2 separate regions of the Homo sapiens genome follow, and region 2 is linked to region 1. Evidence: promoter capture Hi-C in human tissues and cell types (Jung and others, 2019). All regions are on one chromosome and are shown on one strand. The core of a region is centred on a gene start or on the middle of the fragment in contact, and the rest is flanking DNA. Distances in the headings are between cores, read along the strand shown. Region 1 holds the start of OR5H6 (olfactory receptor family 5 subfamily H member 6). Region 2 has its middle 44 kb from the start of OR5H6.

Region 1 (2,940 bases), core at 124-2,623:
AATTATGCACATTCTCGGACTAAAACTCTTAAGGCTAGTCACTTAAAAATTAACTTTTGTATTCATATACACACTTCTGGCCATAATTTGACAGCTCACACTGTATGTGTTATTGATATAGATGAAGGATGCATTCAGTGGATTCATGGTATTTCTGTCATGGCTGAATTTACAACTAAAATCCACTTTTGATCCACTTTTCTTCTTCTATCCATATTCCAAAGGTAGGATCAATGTGTTTCATTGCCGTCCTAGGTCACTGTTTCTTCTCTCTACAGGCAAGAAGAATGGGAAAATGACTTTCTAATCCTTTTGGCTTCTAGAGCAATAGCAATAGGTAACCTCAGAAAGCCCCCAAGACTTGGGTGGCAAAAAAGAGGATTAGATCTTGACCATCTTATAAAAGATTATATCCACTTTGTACATCATTTCTAATGATGCCTTCAAATACTACAATGATTCCAGGTAATTACTTCTATTAAGCTCTAATAGACCCATATTACTGATTGAATCTCACCTAGTTGTTCAGATGTGATGCTCACTCCAAAAACTTGCCAGCAATTTGAGTTCTCATCCTAAATGTTTAATGTCCACCTATCTAGTCACCAAGTGACTTCTCTCTCCTTCACTGACCACATACTTCAAACTGAATATGTCACAGAATACTAGAGACTCTACATTTCGAATTCCTTTGAATCTATTCATTTGTCCTACCACGTCTTCCAGTGTCATTTCAAACTGGGACTAGAGACTTCACATGCATTTCAATCACTTGAGGGTATTTCCAAAATACAGATTCCTAGACCTCATTCCTGAAATCATCAATTTCTACAATAAAACCTCACAATCTGTATTTTTCATTAAAAAATACTCTCCCAGATGATTCTCATGTGTAATCTAATTTGGGATCCCTTTGACCTTAGTATCAAGTTTCTAATTAGGACTCCTGAATCACTGTTTCCTTTCTGCAGCATACTTTTACACTACCAAGAACTAAATTTTAAAAATATATCATGATGCCATTTTGTATCCTAAAATATTTGGTGCATGTTTATTGTGTGAAGAATAAAATTTGAGATTCTTCACATTGCATTCATTCCATTTATTTTAACCTGCGTCTTTCAAATATCTTTTTTCCTTCACCCTACATCCATGTCCCAGACAGATTTTTTTCATTACATTCAGTAGAGTCCACAAAAATTTAGTACATTCAGATAATGCGTCTTTTTAACTCTCAGTCTGTTAACTCCTACACAATTTTCAAACCAAATTCATTATTATTTCCATGTATTTAAATCCTCAAATATAGGGTTCATCAATTATAGCACTGATCAAAAAAAATTAAGAGGGCTCGATAATTACATAGTTTATTTCAACACCTCTTCCCCAATTTCAACTCACAATTCCATTGCAAATGTTCCTTTACCTTTGCTTCATTTTTCAGAGGACATGCAGTGAGGAGATGGAAGAGGAAAATGCAACATTGCTGACAGAGTTTGTTCTCACAGGATTTTTACATCAACCTGACTGTAAAATACCGCTCTTCCTGGCATTCTTGGTAATATATCTCATCACCATCATGGGGAATCTTGGTCTAATTGTTCTCATCTGGAAAGACCCTCACCTTCATATCCCAATGTACTTATTCCTTGGGAGTTTAGCCTTTGTGGATGCTTCGTTATCATCCACAGTGACTCCGAAGATGCTGATCAACTTCTTAGCTAAGAGTAAGATGATATCTCTCTCTGAATGCATGGTACAATTTTTTTCCCTTGTAACCACTGTAACCACAGAATGTTTTCTCTTGGCAACAATGGCATATGATCGCTATGTAGCCATTTGCAAAGCTTTACTTTATCCAGTCATTATGACCAATGAACTATGCATTCAGCTATTAGTCTTGTCATTTATAGGTGGCCTTCTTCATGCTTTAATCCATGAAGCTTTTTCATTCAGATTAACCTTCTGTAATTCCAACATAATACAACACTTTTACTGTGACATTATCCCATTGTTAAAGATTTCCTGTACTGATTCCTCTATTAACTTTCTAATGGTTTTTATTTTCGCAGGTTCTGTTCAAGTTTTTACCATTGGAACTATTCTTATATCTTATACAATTATCCTCTTTACAATCTTAGAAAAGAAGTCTATCAAAGGGATACGAAAAGCTGTCTCCACCTGTGGGGCTCATCTCTTATCTGTATCTTTATACTATGGCCCCCTCACCTTCAAATATCTGGGCTCTGCATCTCCGCAAGCAGATGACCAAGATATGATGGAGTCTCTATTTTACACTGTCATAGTTCCTTTATTAAATCCCATGATCTACAGCCTGAGAAACAAGCAAGTAATAGCTTCATTCACAAAAATGTTCAAAAGCAATGTTTAGATCTCATACAATCTCTCTTCTCTATTTACTAAAATTGTCCCAAGATTGTGCAAGTTAGAGGTGTCTATGTCTTGCCAGCATTCAAAGATGATGCAAAGTCCTAGCACTTTAATGGCCTAAGGTTTTAGTACCTATTAAACTAATAAATATATCCCTAATGTTATTCAATAGCACTTAAGAAATTTTAATCATGTTCATATCATAATTGAATAATATTAGCAGAAAGAAAATAAAAATATTTTACAAAGTCGTATGTTATTCAATGTGGCTTTATAAATGCATTAAATGCTAAAATAGTCTAGGTCATCTAATAAGGACTTGAGTATAAGTGCAGTAAAAATAGCGACTGACCATCTCTTTTTAATTTGGCCATGTTAGGACCTTTAATAAATAATCTCATATTAGACTTTAATCTTTAATTAGACATCATAGCCTCTCCAGGCTAACTCCCCAGGCTGTGATGTCACAGTAAGAACATACCATTTGTCTTGACCTGCAATAATTGGTTAAATATAGTCACAAATTGAAAGAATACCAAAATGACAAAG
Region 2 (2,940 bases), core at 326-2,825, 44 kb before region 1:
ATAGTTTTTTTCTGTAAATTGAACTACACTCCAAGGTTCGTTTAAAGTTTTCCCATACTGGCCTCACTGAACACATCTGACCCTTCTCTGCTTCTCTGTTTGCATACCAGTCACATTTATCATTTATTGTTTCTCCATGATCAAGTATCTCTGATAATCTAGGTCCTCCCATGATGAAGGCCTGTTGGATGCAAATGTCCACAGTCATCACTGTGTTAGAAATAAAGGCTCCTGAATGACTCACGCCAGAACTACTAAAACAGAGTCTGCATTTTTGACAACATCACTAGGAAAGTCATAGGCATTATAGTTTGAGCAGCACAGATATAGGACACCTTACAGTGTGGTGTCTGTGTTTTTCGATTTGCTCTCCTGTTGAACTATGCCTAATAAAGTTTCCCATGAGATTTTAGCTTACAACAGGGGAACAAGGTTTATGTCAAAAATTTGAGCTGTAATTTGCATGGGGAAGACAACCGTATTTGGGTTTGGCTCCTGAGGGAATCAGAGACTTTGGCCTTGTTAAAATTATGTTTTGATTACTTCGGAGGAGACCATCCTAATCAAAACACTAAGAGTAGATTTCATATGTGAACTAAAACTTGCACAAACATGCCAGAAGTGCCACCTGTGGTGGTAAATAGTGGCATAAGTACTATGTCAATTGTTAAAACTGGAAGTGTCTACATTGAAATGATGGTTATGATTCCAGAATTTGTACTGCCATTTGAGACAACCTGCACTTCTCATACATGACCAAATCCACCGTGCTCACTAGAACAGCATCGATTTGTCCTACAGGGAGTCTTCTGGCACTCTTATGAGAATTTTGGTTTTTCTGCTCCTTCATCTTCTGGCAAAAGTACAGAGTTGTACTACTGAATGATTCTATGTTCAATTCAAATTTATATTAACAACATTTTCCTGAGAATGGGAAAAGAAACATCCAAAAAGAATGAATATGCCATGAATTGTTGGCATTCCTGTGTTGTTATATTTTATTTCTGTTTTAGAAAGCCTAATGTTTTTTATTTTTAATTTTTTTTTTTTTTTTACAGAGTCTCACTCTGTCACCCAGGCTGCAGTGTAATGGTGCTATCTTGGCTCACTGCAACCTCTGGCTCCCAGGTTCAAAAGATTCTCCTGCCTCAGCCTCCCGAGTAGCTGGGATTATCAGGCGCACACCACCACACCCGGCTAATTTTGTATTTTTAGTAGAGATGGGGTTTCACCATGTTGACCAGGCTGGTCTTGAACTCCTGACCTCTGGTGATCTACCCGCCTTGGCCTCCCAAAGTGCTGGGATTAGAGGCGTGAGCCACTGCACCTGGCCAGAGAGCCTAATAGTTTTAAAGGATCTCCACAATTTCTTTCAAAATATGGGTAAGGAAGAAATAATTTCTATAATTTTCATTATGCTTCATAGAAATGTTAAAAGTGTTATTTATTTCATTATAATTTTACATTGGGTACACAATCTGTCTAAATAACCAGGTTGAAATTAGACAACAAATATTGGGTTATCTTTATATTTTAGTTTCATGACTATAATATGGATAGGGTAAATAGTTATAAGACTAAATTGTTATTTTGATGATATTTTAGTATTTTGTTAACGTTATAATGATTTTATAAGATAACTTCTGGTGAACTAGTACGTTAAATAATTAGAACTGGGTTTAAGGATTCAGATCATAATGATTCTTAGAATTATTTCTAAATTTTCTGATACAAATACCCATTCTTTTACTTAATTACATCCTCTGATTAAAGCTTTTAAGGTGAGTCACTTACATATTAACCCTTGTAAACTTATACCCATTTTAACAATAATTTGACAGCTCACACTGTAAATGTTTTTACTGTGGATGAAAGATGCGTTAGGTGGAGTCCTAGTATTTCTGCCTTGGCTGACTTTGCAAAGAAAATCTGCCTTTGTTCCTAAACTATTTTCTCCCTCTTTCTCCATATTCCAAATGTAGCATGAGTGTGTTTCATTGGCCATCCTAGATCATGTCTCTTCACTCTAGAAGCAAGAAGAATGGGAAAATGAGTTTCTAGTTCTTTGGCTTTTAGAACAGTAGGTAACCTCTGACAGCCGCCAAGACTTGGGTGGCAAAAAAGAGGATCAGCTTTTGGCCATCTTCTAAAGGATGCATATCCACTTTGTTACCTCTTTTAATATAATTTCCTTAAGTTTATTTTCTTGTCATTCTTTTTTTTACTTGTCTAATCTCCAATGGATACATCATTTTTAACTATGTCTTTGACTACCACAATGATTCCAAGTAATTATTTCTATGAAGCTATAGTAGGTTCACATTACTGATTGGATGTCACCTAATTGGTCACATGATGCTCACTCCAAAACTTGCCAGCGCAACTGAGTTCCCATCCTCAATATTTAATGACCACTTACCCAGTCACCAAGTGACTCTTCCCTCCTTCATTAACCACTTTTTTTTCTCACCAAATATGTCACAGAATACTAGGGACTCTACATTCTGAATTCTTTTGAATCTATTTCTTTGACTTACCATCTCCTCCAATGACATCACATGGACTAGACCCTTAATATGCTTTTGAATCGCTTTGAGGGTATTTTCAAAATGCAGATCCCTAGACTCTGTTTCTGAAATAATTTCCACATTAAAACCTTGCAATCTGTATTTTTCATAGAAAAAACACTGCTAGGTGATTCTCATGTGTAATCTGATTTGGGATCACCTTGACTTTAGTAACAAGTTTTTGGTTAATATCCATGAGTCAGTTTCCCCTTCCTGTAGCACATTTTCTACACTATCAATCACTAAATTAAAAAATATGTTATGATGCCATTTCCCATCTTAAAACATTTGGTGCATGCTTATTATGTGAAGAGTGAAGTTTAAGATTTTTCACATGGCATTCATTTTATTTATTTTTAATCCAAAACCTTCA

The links. Contacts are between HindIII fragments. The study calls those that stand out against the background at their distance.
Region 2: a contact is called between a fragment that was not itself captured here and the fragment with the promoter of OR5H6 in region 1, in 1 of the 25 tissues and cell types used here (liver).

Annotation. Positions count from the first base shown.
Region 1 is chr3:98,262,871-98,265,810 of GRCh38, forward strand. It overlaps OR5H6 (olfactory receptor family 5 subfamily H member 6), which reads left to right and starts at 1,374. Exons shown (of 1, transcript NM_001005479.2): 1 at 1,374-2,486. The coding sequence starts at 1,463. The coding sequence ends at 2,392. It also overlaps a transcript of LOC105373999 not described here. The HindIII fragment of the contact is 14,089 bases long and covers 1-2,940 here.
Region 2 is chr3:98,218,765-98,221,704 of GRCh38, forward strand. No RefSeq gene overlaps it. Among named protein-coding and RNA genes, the nearest start is that of OR5H6, 44 kb to the right of the region's middle. The HindIII fragment of the contact is 5,010 bases long and covers 1-2,940 here.